Linked DNA regions of Homo sapiens: region 2 is linked to region 1. Evidence: promoter capture Hi-C in 16 types of primary human blood cells and fetal thymus (Javierre and others, 2016). All regions are on one chromosome and are shown on one strand. Each heading gives the region's core, a stretch centred on a gene start or on the middle of the fragment in contact. The rest is flanking DNA. Distances are from core to core; before and after follow the strand shown.

The links. The method cuts DNA at HindIII sites, captures the fragments that hold promoters and counts their contacts. A CHiCAGO score of 5 or more calls a contact.
Region 2: a fragment that was not itself captured here is called in contact with the fragment with the promoter of KDF1 in region 1 in 9 of 17 cell types (M0 macrophages, erythroblasts, endothelial precursors and 6 more); the score reaches 9.1 in M0 macrophages.

The regions. Positions count from the first base shown.
Region 1 is chr1:26,955,677-26,963,229 of GRCh38, forward strand. KDF1 (keratinocyte differentiation factor 1) reads right to left here and starts at 4,792. Exons shown (of 4, transcript NM_152365.3): 1 at 4,674-4,792. RefSeq lists an enhancer at 4,230-4,912 and a silencer at 5,782-6,076. The HindIII fragment of the contact is 1,819 bases long and covers 3,233-5,051 here.
Region 2 is chr1:27,305,002-27,312,554 of GRCh38, forward strand. WDTC1 (WD and tetratricopeptide repeats 1) reads left to right here. Exons shown (of 16, transcript NM_001276252.2): 15 at 1-192; 16 at 1,185-3,635. The coding sequence ends at 1,382. Among named protein-coding and RNA genes, the nearest start is that of TMEM222, 13 kb to the right of the region's middle. RefSeq lists enhancers at 2,255-2,780, 2,781-3,306, 3,307-3,831. The HindIII fragment of the contact is 2,559 bases long and covers 2,701-5,259 here.

The DNA.
Region 1 (7,553 bases), core at 3,542-6,041:
CCGGGCACAGTGGCTCATGCCGGTAATCCCAGCACTTTGGGAGGCTGAGGCGGGTGGATCACGAGGTCAGGATTTCGAGACCAGCCTGACCAACATGGTGAAACCCTGTCTCTACTAAAAATACAAAAATTAGCTGGGCGTGGTGGAGCGTGCCTGTAATCCCAGCTATGCAGGAGGCTGAGGCAGGAGAATCGCTTGAACTTGGGAGGCGGAGGTTGCAGTGAGCCCAGATCGCACCACTGCACTCCAGCCTATGCAACAGAGTGAGACTCCATCTCAAACAAACAAACAAAGTTTGTAAGATGGAGCATGTAGGATATATGAAGCATCATGGGAGTAAATAACTCTGCCTGACAGAGTCAAGGAAGATTATGCAGTAGTGTATTTGGGAAGGTCCTTGATCTCATGTAGGGGTTTGCCAGGCAGTAACTATCCTTAGCTTGGATTTTCTGAGACACTGATCCCTTATCCTTTTATTCCTGAATTAATGGCACTGGGGTCTTAAACCGGGGGTGTGTGAGGAATGTGGAACTGGGCATCGGGATATCTGTGTTTTAGTTCCAGTTCTGGCCCTAATCTAACCCCAGATTTGGCACTTGGGAAAATTAATGCCACCTCCCTAAAGAGGGCCATCATTATCTCTCACCCAAATACTGTCACAGCCGCCATTCTGGCCACTTCCATTCCCTCTTACTTGCTGTAGCAAGTAAAAACTTTAAAATGTTTAGAGGAACACGGCAGACACCACTTTAATCAAATGATCAAAGATAATATCACCATAATGGGATGAATTGACATCAAGTTCCTCCTGATACTATGTACTAAGGAGGATACAACTCACGAAGTATTCCTGTCAAAAATGCATAACCTGAATGTAATAATGAGGAAATAATAGACAAGCCCAAGTTGAGAAACATGACAACTAAATGCAGTGTGATCCTAGAAAGGATCCTGGATTGGGAGGAAAAAATTGGAAATTGGATAATGTGAATAACTGGTGAAATATGTTATTTGATAGTATTATATCAATGTTACATTTTCTGAATTTGATTACTGTGGTTATATAAGATAATGTTCTATTCTTAGGAAACATACATTGAAGCACTTGGGGATAAAGGGGCAGGATTATCTGCAACCTAATCTCAAATGGTTCAAACACAAAAGAACAAAAGTTATGTGTGTGTAGAGAAAGGGAAAGAGGGAATGTTGCCCATGGTAAATGGGGATGTGAAGGATACAGTTCTTTTATTTATTTTATTTTATTTTTAGAGATAAGGTCTCCCTCTGTTACCCAGATTGGAGTGCAGTGGTGCAACCCTAGCTCAATGAAGCCTCAAACAACAGGGCTCAAGTGATCCTCCTGCCTCAGCCACTTGAGTAGCTAGGACTATAGGTGCATACCACCCTGCCCCACTAGTTTTTTGTTTTGTTTTGTTTTTTGGTAGAAATGGGATCTTGCTATGTTGCTCAGGTGGTCTTGAATTCCTGGCCTCAAGTGATCTCCTGCCCTGGCCTCCCAAAGTGCTGGGATTACAGGCATGAGCCTCTGTGCCTGGCCTAGGATACAGTTCTTTAACCATTCCTACAACTCTTTAACCTACTCTCCTGGCCTTACTCAGCACTCCTTCTCCAGGGACCTTCTGGAACCACTAGTCAGATGGGAGGCCCTCTCCCCATGGCCTTCTGCTGGGCTGTCAGCTGGGTCAGCCTTGTACTGATTGTTTGAGGATAAGTCTATGTCCCCAAGGACCATGACCCTGAAGTGCAGGGACTGTGTGTAATTCTTTTCTGCCTCAGGGTCTGGAACAGGGTTTGGTACACTAGGTGCCTCAGGGGACTGACAGATTTCAGGTTGCCTCAGGGTAGAACCAGCGCCACTGGGTACAAAGAAAAAAAGACTTAGGCTCTACGTTGACCAGAGTATGGATGGGGGATAGGAGGTGAGGGAGAGAGTGAAATCCCATCTGCAACGGTATCCCAAATAAAATTCTAACAGGTGATTTTAAATTCCCTTGCAATCTGAGCTAAGTGGTTAAAAATCTTTGCTTTAGTTTGAGAAATGTGGGGTATGGATTCACACATTCACGCAATTAACAGATATTTACTGAGGGCCCACTGTGTGCCACATGCTGGATTTATTATTATTATTATTATTATTTGAGACAGTCTTACTCTGTCACCAACGCTGGAGTGCATGGCACGATCTTGGCTCACTGCAACCTCTGCCTCCCAGGTGGAGGCAATTCTCATGCCTCAGCCTCCTGAGTAGCTGGAATTACAGGTGCATGCCACCACACCCAGCTAATTTTTTTGTATTTTTAATAGAGATGGGGTTTCACCATGTTGGCCAGGCTGGTCTCGAACTCCTGACCTCAAGTATCCACCTGCCTCAGCCTCCCAAAGTGCTGACATTACAGGCATAAGCCACCGCGCCCAGCCAGCTGTTCTAAATTCTTTTTTTTTTTTTTTTTTTTGAGATGGAGTCTCACTCTGTTGCCCAGTCTGGAGTGGAGTGCAGTGGCGTGGTCTTGGCTCACTGCAACCTCTGCCTCCCGGGTGCAAGCGATTCTCCTGCCTCAGCCTCCTGAGTGGCTGGGACTACAGGCGCGTGCCACGCCTGGCTAATTTTTTGTATTTTTAGTAGAGATGGGGTTTCACCATGTTAGTCAGGATGGTCTGATCTCCTGACCTCGTGATCCACCCACCTCGGCCTCTCAAAGTACTGGGATTACAGGCGTGAGCCACCGCGCCCGGCCTAGCTGTTCTAAATTCTATGGATAAAGTGATAAAACAGACAAAATCCCTCAACCTCAGGAGTTTACAATCCAGTGAGAGTTGATTATTGATGGCTTACACTGTTCTAAGTACTTCAGACATAATAACCAATTAATTTTCACAACCCTCTTTGTAATATTATTACCTGTATTATTATACTAAAGCACAGACAGGTTAAATAAGTTGTCCAAAGCCATACATCTATCTGTACACAATTGGCCTGGCCCCAGACTCTTATCCACTACCCCATCCCATCTATTACTTGGGAGAAAAGAGGCAGTCAAAGCTGCCAGCTCCATGGACCAGCGTGTGCCCAGAGAGAGCCCATGTTGGGAGCCCTGTCTTCCAGGCTCAAGCCTTCAGGAGAGTGGACAGATCTACAGTTAACCATGCTGAGCTCGGAAGTACGTGGGGCTCCTGAGGATGGACTGGCTATTGTCTTCTCCCCAACCTCCAAAGCTTTAGGACTCTCTATTATTGATTAAATTAATACAACGAGGTGCCCAGCGTTGTGCTAAATGCTGAGAAAACAGCAGTGAATGGGCCAGAGGACTTTCACCTTATTTGACTCTCACAATTGCTCTGAAAATAAGTAGTATATCTCCATTTCACAGATCAGGAATCTGAAGCTCAGAAAGGTGAAGTGACTGGCCCAGAGACACCTAGCAAGAGAGGGCTGGAGTAAGATTTGCACTGTGGCCCGCCAGGCTCTGAAGCCTGCGTACTTTGTGTGTGCCACACATCTCCAGCGGTGGTGGGATGAGAAGAGAAGACCTGGGATAAGGACAATGCCTGCCTCAGTTCCCCACTTCCCTCCAGCCATTGAACCCTCCTGAAGTCAAACTCAGGCAGTTTCTTCCAGGCTGTATCTCCCCGACCCTGCTGCCACCGCCCCGCCACCACCCCGCCCAATCCTAGGAACCTGGTCACTTGGTTTAGTGAGGGGAGACTCCCTGTCCCTATTGTGGCTTGAGGCAAGATTCTTAACCTCACTTTCCTCATCTTTAAATAAGGAGAGACTAGTATCTTCATGCCCCGCCAATCCCGTGAGATTTAAATGAAATATTGAGTGCAGGGGGCTTCCCGCAGTGGCCTTGCCCATGGGAGGGGCTAGGTCACTAGGCGATCTAAGGCACCGCAAGGATGTTCCCGGGGGTCAGAGGGTCCCGGCCCGCCCTCCCTGGATTTCTCGTTGATGCTTTCCTCTTCCCCCTTAGTCCCGCGAACACACACACACACTCAAGGGTCTATGTACCGTCCCCTCCTCCGAGGGTCCCCAGGACAGGCCCGGCCGCACCAGCCTCTGCCCCCAGCCCAGTGCCAAGCCTCGGACACCCGGCCGGGGAGGACCACCCCAGTCCTGCTCGAGAAACAGCCGTCGGCTCAGTGCACCCTCGGCCTCCTGCCCCAAAGGTGCAGCCCGAGAGTCCCATATCCGCGGGCAGCTAGTCCTGGGGACAAGGAAGAACCAGATCCTGGCACTGTCCCCCGGGCTACCACAGCCCCTACACCAACTCTGCCCTCGGGGCGAGCACTACCCTCTCCAGCTGCAAGGGCCCTACCCCGCGGGCGGACCCAGCCTCCCTCCCGTCCCGACGCTGTTCCTCGGGGTGAGCACCAGCGTTTGTCCCATCCCGACGCTGCCCCCCGGTGAGTGCGGCCCCCGCACCCAGCCAGTGCAGCCCTAAGGGCGAACGCGGCCCCTCACCCCATTCTGCGCGCCCAGCCCGGGCGCCCGCTCAGGCCGCTCCCCAGCCCGGCCCGCGCACCCCGGAAGTAGGAGGGTGGCCCCCGAGGAACCGGGCCCGGGACCCTCTCCTGTCCGGGCTCAGCTTCGGGGGGCTCCCGACACCGGCGCCGCCCTGGCTTGCGCCCCCCTGGGCCCGCGCCGGGCTTACCTGTCCCGCCAGGTGAGCCGCCTCCGGCTCAGCCCCTCCCCCGCCCCCTCGCCGCTCACCTGGGGCGCAGGTGAGCGTCTCGCGGGAGCGCTGCACGGGCCGCCGCTAGGGACACACTTCCTGCCTCCGCGAAGCGCTACCGCGCACCTGGACCGAGGCCCCGCCCCGGGGCTCTGCAGAGCTGCGCGTCCCCGCTCGAGTGCTCGGCCCGTTCAGCCTAGTCCGGGTAGGTGAGGTGTGGCGGGGAGGGGTCGAGAGGCGCTGGGGCTCAGTCTCCTCTTCTGTTCAACAGGCTGGTGGTCCTGTCAGTCTCTGAGCACCTGTGGAACTTCTGCCCGGCCGTAAAGCTCCAACTCAAAGGGAAGCTCTCTTCTGGGAAGCTTTCCCTGATCCTGTCTGTTTTTCTGTTGGTTAGAACAGTCCCTGTACTCAGCACACTGTCGTTTTGTTGTCTTCTGTCTCCTCCTTTAGCCTCCTACCTTGCAGGGTTTGGTCTTGTTCCCCTGTGTTCCTGGTGCTCAGCACAGGTCCTGGCACATACTAGGTGTTCAACAAATATTTTCCACTGAATGAGGCCCTGGGCCCCAATTTCTCCCTTTGCCCTGAGGCAGAACTGGGAGCCTGGGCCGCTGATCAGTTTACCTTTTCTTTTGTTCAGAGAAATCTGCAGGTAAAGACAGGAACCTCAGCTCTGAGGCCCCGAGTAGGGTAGAGGAGGGGGACCGGATATGCAGCTCTGAAAGATACATCCAGGATCAGAAGTGGTGGCCAAAATGGGCCATGGTCACTACATCCAAAAAAGGTCTCTGCAAGAGGCAACACCATTGAATGTCAATAAGGCAAGGCTCAGACTATTCTGGGTTACTGTTCCCCTTAATATTAATAACAACTCAATAACTTAACAATAGCATTAATAAACAAGTGACTTGGCCGGGCGCAGTGGCTCATGCCTGTAATCCCAGCACTTTGGGAGGCCGAGGCGGGAGGATCGCGAGGTGGGAGTTTGAGACCAGCCTGGCCAACATAGTGAAACCCAGTCTCTACTAAAAATACAAAAAATTAGCCTAGCATGGTAGCAAGTGCCTGTAATCCCAGCTACTCGGGAGGCTGAGGCAGGAGAATGGCTTGAACCCAGCAGGCAGAGGTTGCAGTGAGCCGAGATCGCGCCATTGCACTCCAGCCTGGGCGACAGAGCGAGACTCTGTCTCAAATAAACAAAACAAACAAACAAACAAGTGACTTTTAGGGAGCATCTCCAGGAGCCATGCATGCCGAAGCCGTTAATCTGTGAAGTGGGTCAGGTATTATCATATCCATTTTACAGTAAGAGGAAACTGAAGCTTAGAGAGGGGACATTGTTTGCTCAGGCAGTTGGCACAAACTGACTTTTGGCAAGGCACTTTCCTTCTCTAAACCTAATCTCTGGAGATAGTAGTACCTCTCTTTAACTGGGAGGATTAAAAGAGATCATGGATGCAACAGGAAGATATCACTGGGATGCATTAGGCATAGGTGTTCAATTTCCACCAGAGACCCTCCATCCCAGCGCCTCCCACCACATCTTGTCCACATTCCCTCCTGAGGAAAGTGCACATTGTATTCTTATTTGGAGCTCAGAGAATGAGTCACATCCTCACTTCACAGTCACATCTTGTGCAGTTGAACATCTGTGTACTCTAAAACCTAGCAAGTCCATTCCTATGGTACAGCCACAGTAAGCTCTTGTGCAATGCACCAGGAGAGAATGTATACAAGAATGTTACTAGAAACATTGTTTGTGGTAGCCCCAAACCGAAAACACGGAAATGCTACTGACAGGAGATAGAGAAATGTGGGATATTCATGCAAAGGAATTAATTATAGAGCAGTAGAAAATGAATGAAAAATAGCAACATGGTTGGATCATGGTAATATAATATTGGATTGAAAAAAGGCAAATCTCAGAAGACTACATATGGAATGACATCCTTTATATATGATTCAAAAATAACTAGAACTACTGCATCTAAGCATAATATTTGGTTGAACCATATGAATTTGCTGTTATTTGACCTGTTTTGATCTAAAAGTAATGGCAGATTCATGTGCTTCAGCCTAATTTTTACGTGAAAAAAAACTAAGAAAAGAGCAAGGCGTTGGGTGCAATAGCCTGGGCCTGTAATCCCAGCTACTTGGGAGGCTGAGGCAAGAGAATCTCTTGAGCCAAGGAGTTCAAGACCAGCCTGGGCAACATAGCAAGACCCTATCTCAAAAAAGAAAAGAAAGAAAAGAGCAAGGGAATGAGAAACACAAAGTTCAGAATAATGAATACCTGGGGGGCTAGGCATGGTGGCTCATGCCTATAATCCCAGCACTTTGGGAAGCCAAGGATTTGGGAGGTTTGGTTGAGCCCAGGACTTCAAGACCAGCCTGGGCAACATAGAAGGACCTGTCTCTATGGAAGGAAAAAAAAAAAAAAAAAAAGGCTGGTCATGCATCTGTGGTCCCAGCTACTTGGGAGGCTGTGGCAGGAGGATTGCTTGAGCCCAGGAGGTCAAGGCTGCAGTGAACCATATTAACACCACTGCCCTGCCCTCCAGCCTGGAACACACCACACACACACACACACACACACACACACACACACACACACACACAAAATTACCTGGGGGAGGATGCAGGGATCCTCCTATTAAATCTACCTGTGGGAGAGAAACCCATAGGTAGATTTAATTTTTAGCAATGTTCTGGTTTTTGTGAATAGTGGATTCAGGGGCTTTCATTTTATAATGAATGAATGAAAAAATAGAAGTTTATGCTCTAATGCTAAATAATTAGAGTTAGTGTCACTTGCAAAGTTCTCAAGATACGCAAACACATGAGAGCCTAGGGTCTTATTTA
Region 2 (7,553 bases), core at 2,730-5,229, 350 kb after region 1:
AACGCTCAGTATATCGTCAGTGGCTCTGACGATGGCTCCTTCTTCATCTGGGAAAAGGAGACCACCAACCTGGTCCGTGTGCTCCAAGGGGATGAGTCCATTGTCAACTGCCTGCAGCCACACCCCAGCTACTGCTTCCTGGCCACCAGTGGCATCGATCCTGTTGTGCGGCTCTGGAACCCCCGACCAGAGGTGAGGGTGCAGAGCCAAGCAGAGAGGAGGGCAGGGACTCTGTGGAAGGCTCCAGTGGAGCCTGCTAGCGCAGGGAAGAGAAATGAGCCACCCAGAGGCTAGAAGCTGCTAAGTAAGCCTTACCCCGGGGCCCAAGGCTGTGTTCTCAGATTCCAGAAGCTCCAAATGCAGCAGCAATTCTCCAGAAGCTGTGCAGAGGCCCTGGTCACAAGGGAACTATGCAGGCTTTGGCATCTGGTAGGCCTAAGTTTGAATCCAGTCTCCTCACTCGCTGCCTGAGAGACTTCACCATCTCTGACCCAGGCTTTTAATCATCTGTACATTGGGAATGGGAATGACAGCACCACCTTGAAAGGTTGTGGTGAGAAGTAAAGAAGAGATGCCTGTGAAGTGTCCAGCCCACAAGGACACTTAGGACAGTGGAGTCCCCTCCACTCCCAGGGTGGGTAGCCAGGGAAGCTGGCTTGGTGCCTCCCCTTCCCCTCTGCCCTACTGCTTCCCTCTTCCCAGCTGGCAAAACAAAAGTCAAGTGGTATGTCTGATTCCCAAGATAATTTGCTGTGACTTTTAAAGAGAGGACCCCTATAGGCTTCCCCATTGAGAGGAGAGGAGAAAGAAAGATGAAGCAAGAGTTGTGGCAACAAAACAGAATGGGGTGGGGAAGTTGTATCTGCCCCTTGTCCCAGGTATCCCAGTATGTGTGTCCAACATATCCTGGTGTGTACTGTCCCCCACGTATATCCCAGCATGTTATGACCTGCCTGTATATCCTGAGGTGGCGTATCTCCCATATATATTCCAGCGTGAGCACCCCCAACAATATGTAGCCAAGGTTGTGTGTTCCCCTCCACCATATACACCTCCTGGCATGTATGTGTACCTCCCCCTATAGATAGTTTAGTCTGTGTATTTCCCTCCCCCTCCCCTATACGTGTACCCTGGTGCCTCTCCCTCCCTGAGCCCCACGTGTGTCACCCCTTTCTCCACCACAGAGTGAAGACCTCACAGGCCGAGTCGTGGAAGATATGGAGGGTGCTTCACAGGCCAACCAGCGGCGCATGAATGCAGACCCGTTGGAGGTGATGCTGCTCAACATGGGCTACCGGATCACGGGCCTGAGCAGTGGGGGTGCCGGGGCCTCTGATGATGAGGACAGCTCTGAGGGCCAGGTGCAGTGCCGGCCCAGCTAGACCCTCCAGCCCTGGTCCCCAGCCCCTGCTACTGGCTGGACCCTCTGCCCTGGGCAGGAGGTCAGGGGATTCTGTTTTGGTTTGTCTTCCCCACCACCCTTTTTTTTCATTTCCCCTGTTTTGTTTGTTAGTTTGGCGTTAGGGGTGGAGGTTGCTACAACTTGCTGGCTTTCGGACTCTGGGCTGATTGTCCCCTGACTATCCCCAGCCCTGAAAAAAAGAGCAGGAGGGGACACCCCTCCATATGCCCCCCCCCATCTCCTGCTTTCATGTCCCTGGAGGGCTCTGGCCTGCCTCAAAACCCCTTCTGCCTCAGGTGGGGAGGAACAAGCTGAACTGTCTTCAGGGACTGTCCTGCCCTTTAGCTGGCAGCAGCAGGAGGAGTGGGATTCCCAATTGGTAAGGGCTCGCCTTGGCCTGTTGCCACTCTTGCTCCCTAGCCTGCAAGGCTAGCTCCCCTGTGGTCTTCAGGAAAGGTTTTGAAAAAGGATGGGTCCCACCCTCCCTCCAGAGCCACCAGTGTTAGAGCGGAGCCCAAAGGAAGGATGGGAGCCCTGGAGTGGGCAAGACCAGGCCACCTGCTGAGGTCGCTGTGGAGCACCCTCGCTCCTCTCCTGGCTACTAGCTCTGGCCCTGCACCTACTCTCACTGGCCACCTCTGGAGGCTCTGCCTTTCCCAAGGGCCCTGGCAGAGGGTGGGGCACTGCACCTTACCCCACCCATCCATGCCAGCACTTCTGCACTACGGCCATTCTCCTCTTGGGCGCTCCTCAGCCTCACTGTGACCTTTCTGCCAGAGCTCCCAGCCAGGCCTACTCTGCTGAGGTGGCGCTTCCTGCTAAGGGCCCTTCTCTGCCCTTTCTGCCCTCCTTCCCATCCCACATGCTGAGCCGCCACAAAGACCAAAGAAGTGATGGCTTTTCTCTGTCCCCTGCTGCTCTGAGGGGAGAGGGGTGGGTCTCCTGAGCCACTCAGATGGGAAAGTCCCTTACTCGGCCCCTCCCTCCCCAGCAGCCCCAAGCTTTACACTGGATGCAGCGATCAACCCACCACTCACCAGGCCTCTCCTCCCCTCTGCCCCCGGCTCTTAGCTCCAGCTGCTCCAGGTAGTTGGTTCATCCTTCCCCCTCTCTCCCTCCCTGCTTCCCCTTCAGTGCTTACTTGGCTCCAGCCCTCCAGCTGCAGCCCCTGGGGAAAAGCAGCCTCCCTTCTCCTCTCCCTCCACTCCCTCGCTCCCTCCCTCAGCCCCTGTCTCTGCCAGGTGCCTCCTCTCAGTCAGGCTTCAGAGCAGCCCTGGAGACAGGAGGGCCATGTTAAAAGCTTTTTCACAGTTTTAAGAAGACAAGTGGAGGGTGAGGATAGTGGTGGGGGGTCTGGCACCATCTCATTGCTTTAATCCCAGCAACACAGGTGGCAGCTTCTCCCCCTTCCTTCCCACCCCAGTCCCTCTTCCCACCCCTCTCTTCTAGCTTGGTAATGAAGTATATTTATTGGTGAAGGAAACAGCTGCTGCTGCTTCTCCTGCTGCTGGGACCTGCTCCCCTGTCTCTTCTCCGTGACCTTTCTCTAGCCAGGGAGAAGGGAGAGCAGGAGTATTGGGGCTGGGCCCTGGGGCCCAAGGACCAGCTGGGTCCCCTTTGCTTTCTTGTGTTCCAGCCACCTGCCATTTCCTCCCTGCCTCCCACCCTCCCTCCCTGCCCCCTGTCCTGCTTCCCACCCCCTGCCTGCCCAGCCTGGGCCCTGCAGTGTGGAGAGACACATAAGCCTTACTGTCCTCTGGGGGCAGGAGCCGAGCCTTTTTGTTGCTCCGCTCCCAGGAGAGTGAGGGTGACGCAATTGATTAAAACCATTTTGTTCTAGGTGTGGCTGGTGGCATTTGTGGGGTGCAGATGGGTCTTGGAACCAAAGTGAGGGCACCTGGTCCCTCACCTCTGTAGCTCTATGACTTAGTAACCACACCTCTACTGGACAGAATGAGGCCTGCCTTGAAGGGTCACCGTGAGCAGCGGCCACCCAGCCCAGCAGGGCTGAGTGCAGAGCCCAGCTCTCATGGCTGTGATTTGTAATCATCAGCTTTCACTCTCTGGCTGTTTTCTCATCAGTAAAATAAGGGACTTGGAATCTTAGTGGTTTTTCAAACCATTTTACATTGTGACCCAATATACACATGATTACTTGTAGATATGTGTGTGTGTATATATATATAAAAAAAATGAACAAAAGTTTTACACAATAATATTTACCCTTGCTACATGCAGTGTACTCTGCTTACCCTTCTGTTTTATTAGGGAAAAAAATATGGCTATAACCCACTAAATTGATTTCACATATGCAAGTTTTTGAAGTGCCCTGGATTAGATAATCTCTTAGACTATAGGTTCCTGAACTTTCTTAGCTCACAGCACCATTACCATCTCAGTAATTTTTTCATGGAGCCTCTAAGCCAAAAGAAATAACAGTTCAATTTATTAAGTAGTTAAGTCCAAATCACTTAAAAAGTATTTATGTCCTAACAAGTTAGTTGCCATTTAAAAAATAATACACCTGAATTGGAAGAAACAATATTTATTTCATTCTTTTTTTTTTTTTTTTTTTTTGAGACGGAGTCTTGCTCTGTTGCCCAGGCTGGAGTGCAGTGGCATGATCTCAGCTCACTGCAACCACCGCCTCCCGGGTTCAAGTGATTCTCCTACCTCAGCCTCCCAAGTAGCTGGGATTACAGGCATGTGCCACCATGCCCAGCTATTTTTTTTTTTTTGCATTTTTATTTATTTTTTATTTTTTATTTTTTTTTTGAGACAGTTTCGTTTTTGTCGCCCAGGCTGGAGTGCAATTGTGCAATTGCGGCTCACTGCAACCTCCGCCTCCTGGGTTCAAGCGATTCTCCTGCCTCAGCCTCCCAAGTAGCTGGGATTACAGGTGCCCGCCACCACACCCAGCTAATTTTTTGTATTTTTAGCAGAGATGGGGTTTCACCACCTTGGCCAGGCTGGTCTCAAACTCCTGACCTCAGGTGATCTGCCCGCCTCAACCTCCCAAAGTGCTGGGATTACAGGTGTGAGCCACCGCGCCCAGCCTTCATTCTTAAACAACTGCAATTACTAATGGGATCTATGCTGCCCATTGGGCACTGAACAACTTGTTAAATTTTCTAATCAAAGCAAACACTGCTGCCTTCATTTCCTGTCCCACATTGATTTTCATTTGCTTTTTATCACAGCAACCACTAAAGACCCAGCTTCTTTTTTTTTTTTTTTTTTTTTTTTGAGGCGGAGTCTTGCTCTGTTGCCCAGGCTGGAGTGCAGTGGTGCGATTTCGGCTCACCGCAAGCTCCACCTTCTGAGTTCATGCCATTCTCCTGCCTCAGCCTCCTGAGTAGCTGGGACTACAGGCAGCTGCCACCAGACCTGGCTTATTTTTTATGTTTTTAGTAGAGATGGGGTTTCACCACGTTAGCCAAGATGGTCTCGCTCTCCTGACCTTGTGGTCCACCCGCCTCGGCCTCCCAAAGTGCTGGGATTACAGGCATGAGCCACTGCGCCCGGCCAAGACCCAGCTTCTTAAAGATGACATCATCAAAAGGATTGTGGCATAATGTAATAATGGAACTGTGAACTACCTTGAGCTAATAGTTCTCTCATTAGCCAAAGATGTTGAATATCTTTCAAAATATCCTACTTTGCCCCCTGTGAATTTGCTGTGGGTGCCCTCAGGCACCTTGATGCACAGTTGGGGAACTATGGTTTAGTCTGTGGGAATAGCAGTTCCACTACTGAAACTACTGAGAGGTCCTGCCGGAAACACAATAGGTGGTATTATAAAACAGATACTGTGGGCTGGTATCATTCCTCTGTGTACCCAAATTAACGTCTGCAGAAGCTTCTTGAAGGCATTTCCAGACCAGACAAAGGAAGGACAATGTTCCAGACCAGGGAGTAGTGCAGAGTCTCAGGTTCCTTCATGAACCCTGAGTGACTCCATCTGGCTGGATTGTAGAGGGTAGACTGGAGGAGCAGTCAAACTGAAGGACTTCCTATGGCTGGTGAGAGACCACAGACTCAATCCTGTAGGCAAGGGAGGCATTGGAAGACTTCACGAGGGTCTCCATTTCATTTGGAGTTGGTACTCCATTTTTTAAAAAATTAATAGCCTTTACTTTCTAGAGCAGTTTTAGGCTTACAGAAAATTGAGCAGATAGTATAATGAGTTTCATATAACCCTCTTTCCCCAGCTCAATTTTCCCAATTATTAACATCTTGCATTAGTGTGTTGTTGTAATTAATGAACCAATATTGATACATTATGATAACTGAAGTCCATAGTTTACATTACGGTTCACTCTTTGTGTTGCAAAGTTCTATGGGTTTTGACAAATGCATGTCTCGTATCCACCATTACATTGTCATACAGAATAGTTTCACTGTTCTAAAAGCACCTTGTCCTCCACGTATTCAGCCCTCATTAGCATCCCCCCAAAAAAGTACTTAGGAATAAATCTAACAACATATGTACAAGGTTTGTATGAGCAAAACTACAAAACTGATAAAAGAAACCAAGGAAGATCAAGTAAATGGAGAGATGGTCCATGTTCACGGATAGGAAAACTCAATATTAGGATGTCAGTTCTTTCCAACTTGATCTATAGCTTCAATGTGATCCTGGTCATAGTCCCAGCAAGTTATTTTGTGAGTATCACCAACTGATCCTAAAGTTTACATGAAAATGTAGCAGACCCAGAATAGTTCCACTGTTCCACCTCCTTCTGCCTCTCCTGGTGCCGTTTGTGTGCTCATTCATTCTGTGCAGACCTGGTGCCTCATTGGTGAAGTAGCAGCTGAGGAGACTCCAGCACTCGTGTGGCTGATGAAAAGCCCAAGGAAGGAGTCAAGACTGAGAATAACAATCTTATTAATTTGAAGGTAATGGGGCAGGATTGTTCCATGGTGCAGTTTAAAATTAAAAGTCATATACCGGCCGGGTATGGTGGCTCACACCTGTAATCCCAGCACTTTGGGAGGCCAAGGTGGGTGGATCACCTGAGGTCTGGAGTTTGAGACCAGCCTGACCAATATGGTGAAACCCCGTCTCTACTAAAAATACAAAAAAATAGCTGGACATGGTGGTATGTGCCTGTAGTCTCAGCTACTTGGGAAGCTGAGGCAGGAGAATTGCTTGAACCCGGGAGGCGGAGGTTGCAGTGAGCCGAGATCGCGCCACTGCCCTCCAGCCTGGGTGACAGAACGAGATGCCATCTCATAAAAGAAAAAAAAAGAGTCATATACCACTTAGTAGAGTAATGAAAGTCTATTGTGAATGACAGAGTTTGTCAGTGAGGCAGATCAGATTCTAATTTGACAGGCAACCAGTCAATGAAACAGACACACCTGCACAGTTGGAAATGGAGGATGAAGATACAATTGATGTGTTTCAGCAACAGACAAGAAGTGTCTACTGAAAAAGGAACCTGCTTCTTTACTCTAGAACTTTGTTCTTATAGACCAAGATTACATTCTCAATTAGAAAACTGCAATTTGGTTCCACCACATCATGACTATTACTATAGTATAGTTTTCTCTATTCTTTTATTTTTCCCTTACCCATTCCCTTATTGTACATAAAATAATGGGTGTATGTTCACAAGCATTTTGCTGTTTTAAATATTAAATGGCCAATGACATCCACTTGATGTCAATCAAAACATATCTGTGGGGAAAAATACCGATTCTTGAAAATTACCTCCCTTTCTCCATCAGTGGCATGCTCATTCAACTCTTATCTTACATTGCAATGTTATTTTGTTCTCACTATTTTAACAAAAAAAAAAAATCCTTGCATACCTTATTCAATTGGAGAATTTTAATGTTTTTCATTTATCATTGTAAAACCAAGGACAATTTTATAACTTTTCGTGTATATAGCTCTTACATGTAGGGCAATCTGTCTTTAACTAGAGATAAATTACTCTTAAAAAAAAATCCTAAATAGTTTTCCTTTAAAGTCAAGCATCTTGTTGTTTAAATAAACTTCTTGTTAAAAATGGAGAAAAAGAAGAAAGACCCAGAATAACCAACATAATACTTACGAAAAACAAATTCAGAGGATTAACACTCCTGACTTCAAGACTTACTATCAAGCTACAATAATCAAGACAGTGTGGTACTGGCAAAAGAA